Regions from separate parts of the Homo sapiens genome. Here region 1 is linked to region 2. Evidence: promoter capture Hi-C in 16 types of primary human blood cells and fetal thymus (Javierre and others, 2016). All regions are on one chromosome and are shown on one strand. The core of a region is centred on a gene start or on the middle of the fragment in contact, and the rest is flanking DNA. Distances in the headings are between cores, read along the strand shown. Region 1 holds the start of ZNF789 (zinc finger protein 789). Region 2 holds the start of BAZ1B (bromodomain adjacent to zinc finger domain 1B).

Region 1 (2,986 bases), core at 11-2,510, about 26 Mb before region 2:
TGTGTTTGTGAAGGCTGTGCATCTGAATGTCAGACTTGCTAATGAAAAATTAAATGGAGTCCATGTTTTGGGTACGGCCCTAGGCCAACCACCCACAGCCATGTAAGGCATTTAAAATACATTGATTTCTCCCTTGAGTTCAGGAGTTGGAGACTGCAATGAGCTATGATGGCACCACTACACTCCACCCTGGGTGACAGAGCAAGACCCTGTCTCTCTTAAAAACAACAGGCCGGGCGTGGTGGCTCACACCTGTAAATCCCAGCACTTTGGGAGGCCGAGGCGGGCGGATCATGAGGTCAGGAGTTCAAGACCAGCCTGGCCAACATAGTGAAACCCAGTCTCCACTAAAAATACAAAAATTAGCCGGGCATGGTGGCGCGTGCCTGTAGTCCCCGCTACTCGAGAGGCTGAGGCAGGAGAATCGCTTGAACCCGGGAGTTGGAGGTTGCAGTGAGTCGAGATTGGCCCATTGTACTCCAAACTGGGCAACAGAGTAACACTTCGTCTCAAACACAACAGCAACAACAATTCCTTATTTCCCTGAAAAGTGTGCGCTGACCAGGAAAGAAGCTTTTTTCTCGTCCGCATGATAAACTGAACCAATCAGCTACAGATGCGAGGCTGATCCAGCTCGACTTACCCTAGAAGGAATGCAAGTTGATAATGGCCAATTACAATCAAGATCACTGCACTTCCTCATTTAGCTTTCCAAGCTGCCATTGGAACAATTTGCCAGCTGTTCCTCTGCATGCACAATAAACTCTTAAAACTTTAACTGGAGGGGACTGTTAACTTTTGACAAAATCCAAAATGCCGCTTCACAATCACGTGAACACCTTCCACTAACAACCACGGCTCATCTCCCACTCTAACAAAACCAAGTCCAGGCGTTCACCATCCATTCATTCTTCGGACTTTGCTCCTCTCGCTGCCGAAGACTTGACACCGCCAAAAATACTCAAAAGCTGGTGCCACAGGCCCCGAGAGCCGCCGCACAAACCCGGAGCGTCCCCTGCGAGCCGGGGGTGTGCGCAGTGGCCTACCCCCCGCACCCACGCCCCCCACAACACTCGTTTCCTTCTCCCCAAACCTGCTGACGGCTCCGAATCTCCGCCAAGCCGCCTCCACCAGGGGCTGGGCTCTCCTCTCGGGGTTCCCGGGCCTGACCCGAGGTCTGTCTGGTCCGCGCCCCTCGGCGAATCACCCCTTACCGGAGGAACAGACACAACCACTCTGGCAGCCTCAGAGCCTCTCGCTGGCTCCACCTGCGCGCGCCGAGCGAAGCGTCCCAGCCAGCGGCCCCTCTAGGACCGCGGAGGCTTCACGACTCTCTTGTCAGACAAAGAGAGTGGCGCCCGCGCGAGTGGGCCCGAACCAATCAACGGCCGCCCTCCCCGCCCAGGCCAATCAACGGCCGGAGACAGCACCGAGAGAGTCACGTGATGGACAGGGCCCCGCCCCTCCTGTTTAATCGTAACATAATTTAGAATTATTCTATGATTCAAGAGCGACACAATTCGTTTCTTTGGCTGTGTGTTTGTGGAGGGGAGTAAGGTTATCAGATAAAAGAAGAAAAATGGGCCAGGCGCGGTGGCTTACGCCTGTAATCCCAGCACTTTGGGAGGCAGAGGCCGGCGGATCAGGTCAAGAGATTTAGATCATCCTGGCCAACATGGTGAAACCCCTTCTCTACTAAAAATACAAAAAAATTGCCGGGCGCGGTGGCTCACGCCTGTAATCCCAGCACTCTGGGAGGCCGAGGCGGGTGGATCACCTGAGGTCGGGAGTTCGATACCAGCCTGACCAACAATGGAGAAACCCGTCTCTACTAAAAATACAAATAAAATTAGCCGGGCATGGTGGTGCCTGCCTGTAACCCCGGCTACTCGGGAGGCTGAGGCAGGAGAAGCGCTTGAACCCGGGAGGCGGAGGTTGCGGTGAGCCGAGATTGCGCCACCGCACTCCAGCCTGGGTGACAGAGCGAGACTCCGTCTCAAAAAAAAAAAAAAAAAAAAAAAAATTAGCTGGGCATGGTGGCGGCGTGCCTGTAGTGCCAGCTACTCGGGAGGCTGAGGCAGGAGAATCACTTGAACTCGGGAGGCGGAGCTTGCAGTGAGCCGAGATCCCACCACTGCACTCCAGACTGGCGACAGAGCGAGACTCTGTCTCAAAAAAAAAAAAAAGAATATTAGATCTTAATTAAAAGGATAATTGTGTGGCTTATGTAAATTACCCCCAAAATACAGTTTTAATGTGAGTAAGGGGTTAATTTTTTTTCTTTTTTTTTTGAGACAGTCTCGCTCTCGCCCAGGCTGGAGTGCAGTGGCGCGATCTCGGCTCACTGCAAGCTCCGCCTCCCGGGTTCACGCCATTCTCCTGCGTCAGCCTCCTGAGTAGCTGGGACTACAGGCGCCCGCTACCACTCCCGGCTAATTTTTTTTGTGTGTGTGTTTTTAGTAGAGACGGGGTTTCACCATTTTGGCCAGGCTGGTCTCGAACTCCTGACCTCAAGTGATCCGCCTGCCTTGGCCTCCCAAGTTTTGTTTGTTTTTTATTTCTTCTAAACAAAACAAAACAAACAGGATACACGTGCAGAACGTGCAGGTTTGTTACATGTGCCATGGTGGTTTGCTGCACCTATTGACCCATCCTCTAAGTTCCCTCCCCTTACCCCCGACTCCCCAAAAGGCCCAGGTGTGTGTTGTTCCCCTCTCTGTGTCCATGCGTTCTCAATATTCAATTCCCACTTATGAATGAGAACATGCTGTGTTTGGTTTTCTGTTCCTGTGTTAGTTTGCTGAGGCTGATGGCCACCAGCTTCATCCATGTCCCTGCAAAGGACAGGATCTCATTCCTTTTTGTGGCTGCTTAGTATTCCATGGTGTATTTGTACCACATTTTCTTTATCCAGTCTACCACTGATGGGCATTTGGGTTGGTTCCATGTCTTTGCTATTGTAAATAGTGTTGCAATAAACATATGT
Region 2 (2,700 bases), core at 178-2,677:
GGGCAACAAAGTAAGACCCTGTCTCTACAAAAAAAATAAAAAATAAAAGGTAGATCCAATTCATTCAAATAGTATTCACTAGCACCTACAATGTTCCGAGCCAGGTGCTGAGTATCATGGGAGAAAAAAAAAAAAAGCCAGAGTCACAGCTCTGGCAGGGCGTGGTGGCTCACGCCTGTAATCCCAACACTTTGGGAGGCCGAGGCGGGTGGATCACCTGAGATCAGGAGTCCGAGACCAGCCTGACCAACATGGTGAAACCCCGTCTCTACAAAATACAAAAAATAGCCGGGTGTGGTGGCGCGCACCTGTAGTCCCAGCTACTCGGGAGGCCGAGGCAAGAGAATAGCTTGAACCCGGGAGGGAGAGGTTGCAGTGAGCCGAGACTGCACCACTGCACTCCAGCCTGGGCAACAAGAGTGAAACTCCGTCTCAAAAAAAAAAATAATGATAATTTTGGGAGGCCTAGGCGGTCGGATCACCTGAAGTCGGGAGTTTGAGACCAGCCTGACCAACATGGAGAAGCCCCGTCTCTACTAATAATACAAAATTGGCCGGGCGTGGTGGTGCACGCCAGTAATTCCAGCTACTTGGGAGGCTGAGGCAGGAGAATCTCTTGAACCCGGGAGGCGGAGGTTGCGGTGAGCCGATATCGCGCCATTGCCCTCCAGCCTGGGCGACAGAGCGAGACTCCGTCTCAAAAAAAACAAAAACCAAAAACCAAAAAACTAAGTACGTCTTTTAATCTATTTCTCCAAAGAAGCTTCTATATTCTACTTTCCAGCCAGCCCCTAGAAACAAGCAGTATACTTCTACCCAGATCTCAACCACACTCCCGCCCAGAAGTTAACTCTGGGGTGAGCAAAGCTGGCCCCCACGTTGTCCTTCCGCAGAACCTTTGGTAGGGTAAGCTCCCGGGGCCACTTCCCGCCAACCCCTCCCTGCAGCCCAGCCCCACCCGCGCATCCCCGGGCGTGGCCGAGCACGGCGCCTTTAAGAAGGGGGAGGCGCCCAAGAGGAAAGACAAAGCCCCTGGCCGCGCGCTCACCCTCCCCCTCCGGCGCACCACACGGACAGTGGTGCCCGGATGTCGGTGTCGCCGTCGGTGACAGATGGCGCAGTATCTGTATATGCGAGGGGCTTCTCCGGCTTGACCTCTTTGAGTTCTCGTCCTCTCCATCCCCCGCTGTCCCCCACTTTTAACTCTGCCGTCGGAGGCCCGCACGCCTATCACGGGCGCTTACATAACGTGACCTTTCACCTCTTCAGACTGCCCTCTAGTGCGCTGCAACCCAACTACGCGACAGGGGCAGGGGGGCGGGACCCAGGCGCGGAGCGGCAGCTCCTCCGAGCCAATAGGCTGTGAGCGCTGACCAGCTCTCCGCCTATTGGAGCATTCGCCACCGGCGCCACGGGGGAGCAAGTTAGTGTGTGCGTTGGCCGGGCCCGGGGGAGGAGGGGAATCTCCCGCCATTTTTCAATAATTTCCTCCGGTGCTGCTGAGGAGGAGTCGTGACTGCCGGCCGCCGGGACCCGAAGCGGAGGTCGGCGGGGGGCTGCTGGGAGGCGCGGCGGTGTGCGCGGGAGCTCTGCGCCGTGGCGTTCCGCTCCATGACTGTCGCGCGGCCGCGCCGGCGGTGAGGGAGCCGGAGTTCGCGCCGCCCTCTCACCCCTCCCTTCCCCCACCCCACCCCCGGGCGCCTGGCGCTCGCTCCGGGCCGCGGGGCCTAGTGCTGCGCCGCGGGGCCGGCCCCAGCAGCCGCCAGTCCCCACCGCCGCCGCCGCGATGGCGCCGCTCCTGGGCCGCAAGCCCTTCCCGCTGGTGAAGCCGTTGCCCGGAGAGGAGCCGCTCTTCACCATCCCGCACACTCAGGAGGCCTTCCGCACCCGGGAGTATCCTTTTCCAGCCGCGCGGGCCGGGCTGGGCCGGGCTGGGCCGGGGTAGGGCCTGGGGCTCGCGAGACCAGGTCAGCCGCGCATCCCCGGCCCGGGGCAGCTGTCAGCGCGCCCCGGCCGCTCGCGGGCCTGGAGGCTGAGTCTCAGCCTGCGCCCGCCGATCCTTCCAGGGGATCCGGCGGGGGGCGCGCACCGGCCCTGGAAGGAGAAGGGCCCGCTTCGGCCGCCCCCGGGGCCCCGCACTTTGTCCCGGGGCCTCGCCGGCGAGGAGCGCATCCCCCATCCCCATTACCTTCCCCGGGTTGGCTTTAGGCCTTGAGGACCCGAGAGGGAGGAGGAGGCGTGGGGAGGGGGAGCTAGGTTTTCTCCTTTAATTTTTACAAAAATTTTTTAAAAATTTAAATGAAACCTGCAGCTTAAGTTTTGAAATTGTACTCGCGCGGCCTCGTGATGCGGCGTGTGCAAGACTCAACTGCGTCTTACCCCGATCTCTGCGGGGATACTTGGCGTTTTTTTCGTCTCCCGAGGGGACTTTAGGCCGGGGATGAACTGACAGGACCCTGGGGCAGAAAACTAGGAATGAGATTCCCCGCTTAGAGGAAAGGGAGGGAAGGAAACTGCCTGTGGAGGAGCTGATGCCTGCCTTCCCTGGGCAGACACAGGTTTGAAATTTTGAAGGTTTAGAAGGAGATTGGTATTTGTTAAAATTAAACAAACAAAAAAACCAAGACGTGAAGTTTTTATGTTGTATTTTAGGAACATGAAATTGGATGTTTTACAAAGGAAGCATCCTCTCGTCATGAC

Evidence for each region. Contacts are between HindIII fragments. The CHiCAGO score rates a contact against its expected background, and 5 or more counts as called.
Region 1: the fragment with the promoter of ZNF789 here is called in contact with the fragment with the promoter of BAZ1B in region 2 in 1 of 17 cell types (total B cells); the score reaches 5.2 in total B cells.

Annotation. Positions count from the first base shown.
Region 1 is chr7:99,471,164-99,474,149 of GRCh38, reverse strand. ZNF789 (zinc finger protein 789) reads right to left here and starts at 1,260. Exons shown (of 5, transcript NM_213603.3): 1 at 1,094-1,260. RefSeq lists enhancers at 971-1,260, 1,551-1,640, 1,861-2,020. The HindIII fragment of the contact is 10,687 bases long and covers 576-2,986 here.
Region 2 is chr7:73,521,020-73,523,719 of GRCh38, reverse strand. It overlaps BAZ1B (bromodomain adjacent to zinc finger domain 1B), which reads left to right and starts at 1,427. Exons shown (of 20, transcript NM_032408.4): 1 at 1,427-1,893. The coding sequence starts at 1,787. RefSeq lists silencers at 814-953, 1,304-2,183 and an enhancer at 1,084-1,243. The HindIII fragment of the contact is 2,091 bases long and covers 766-2,700 here.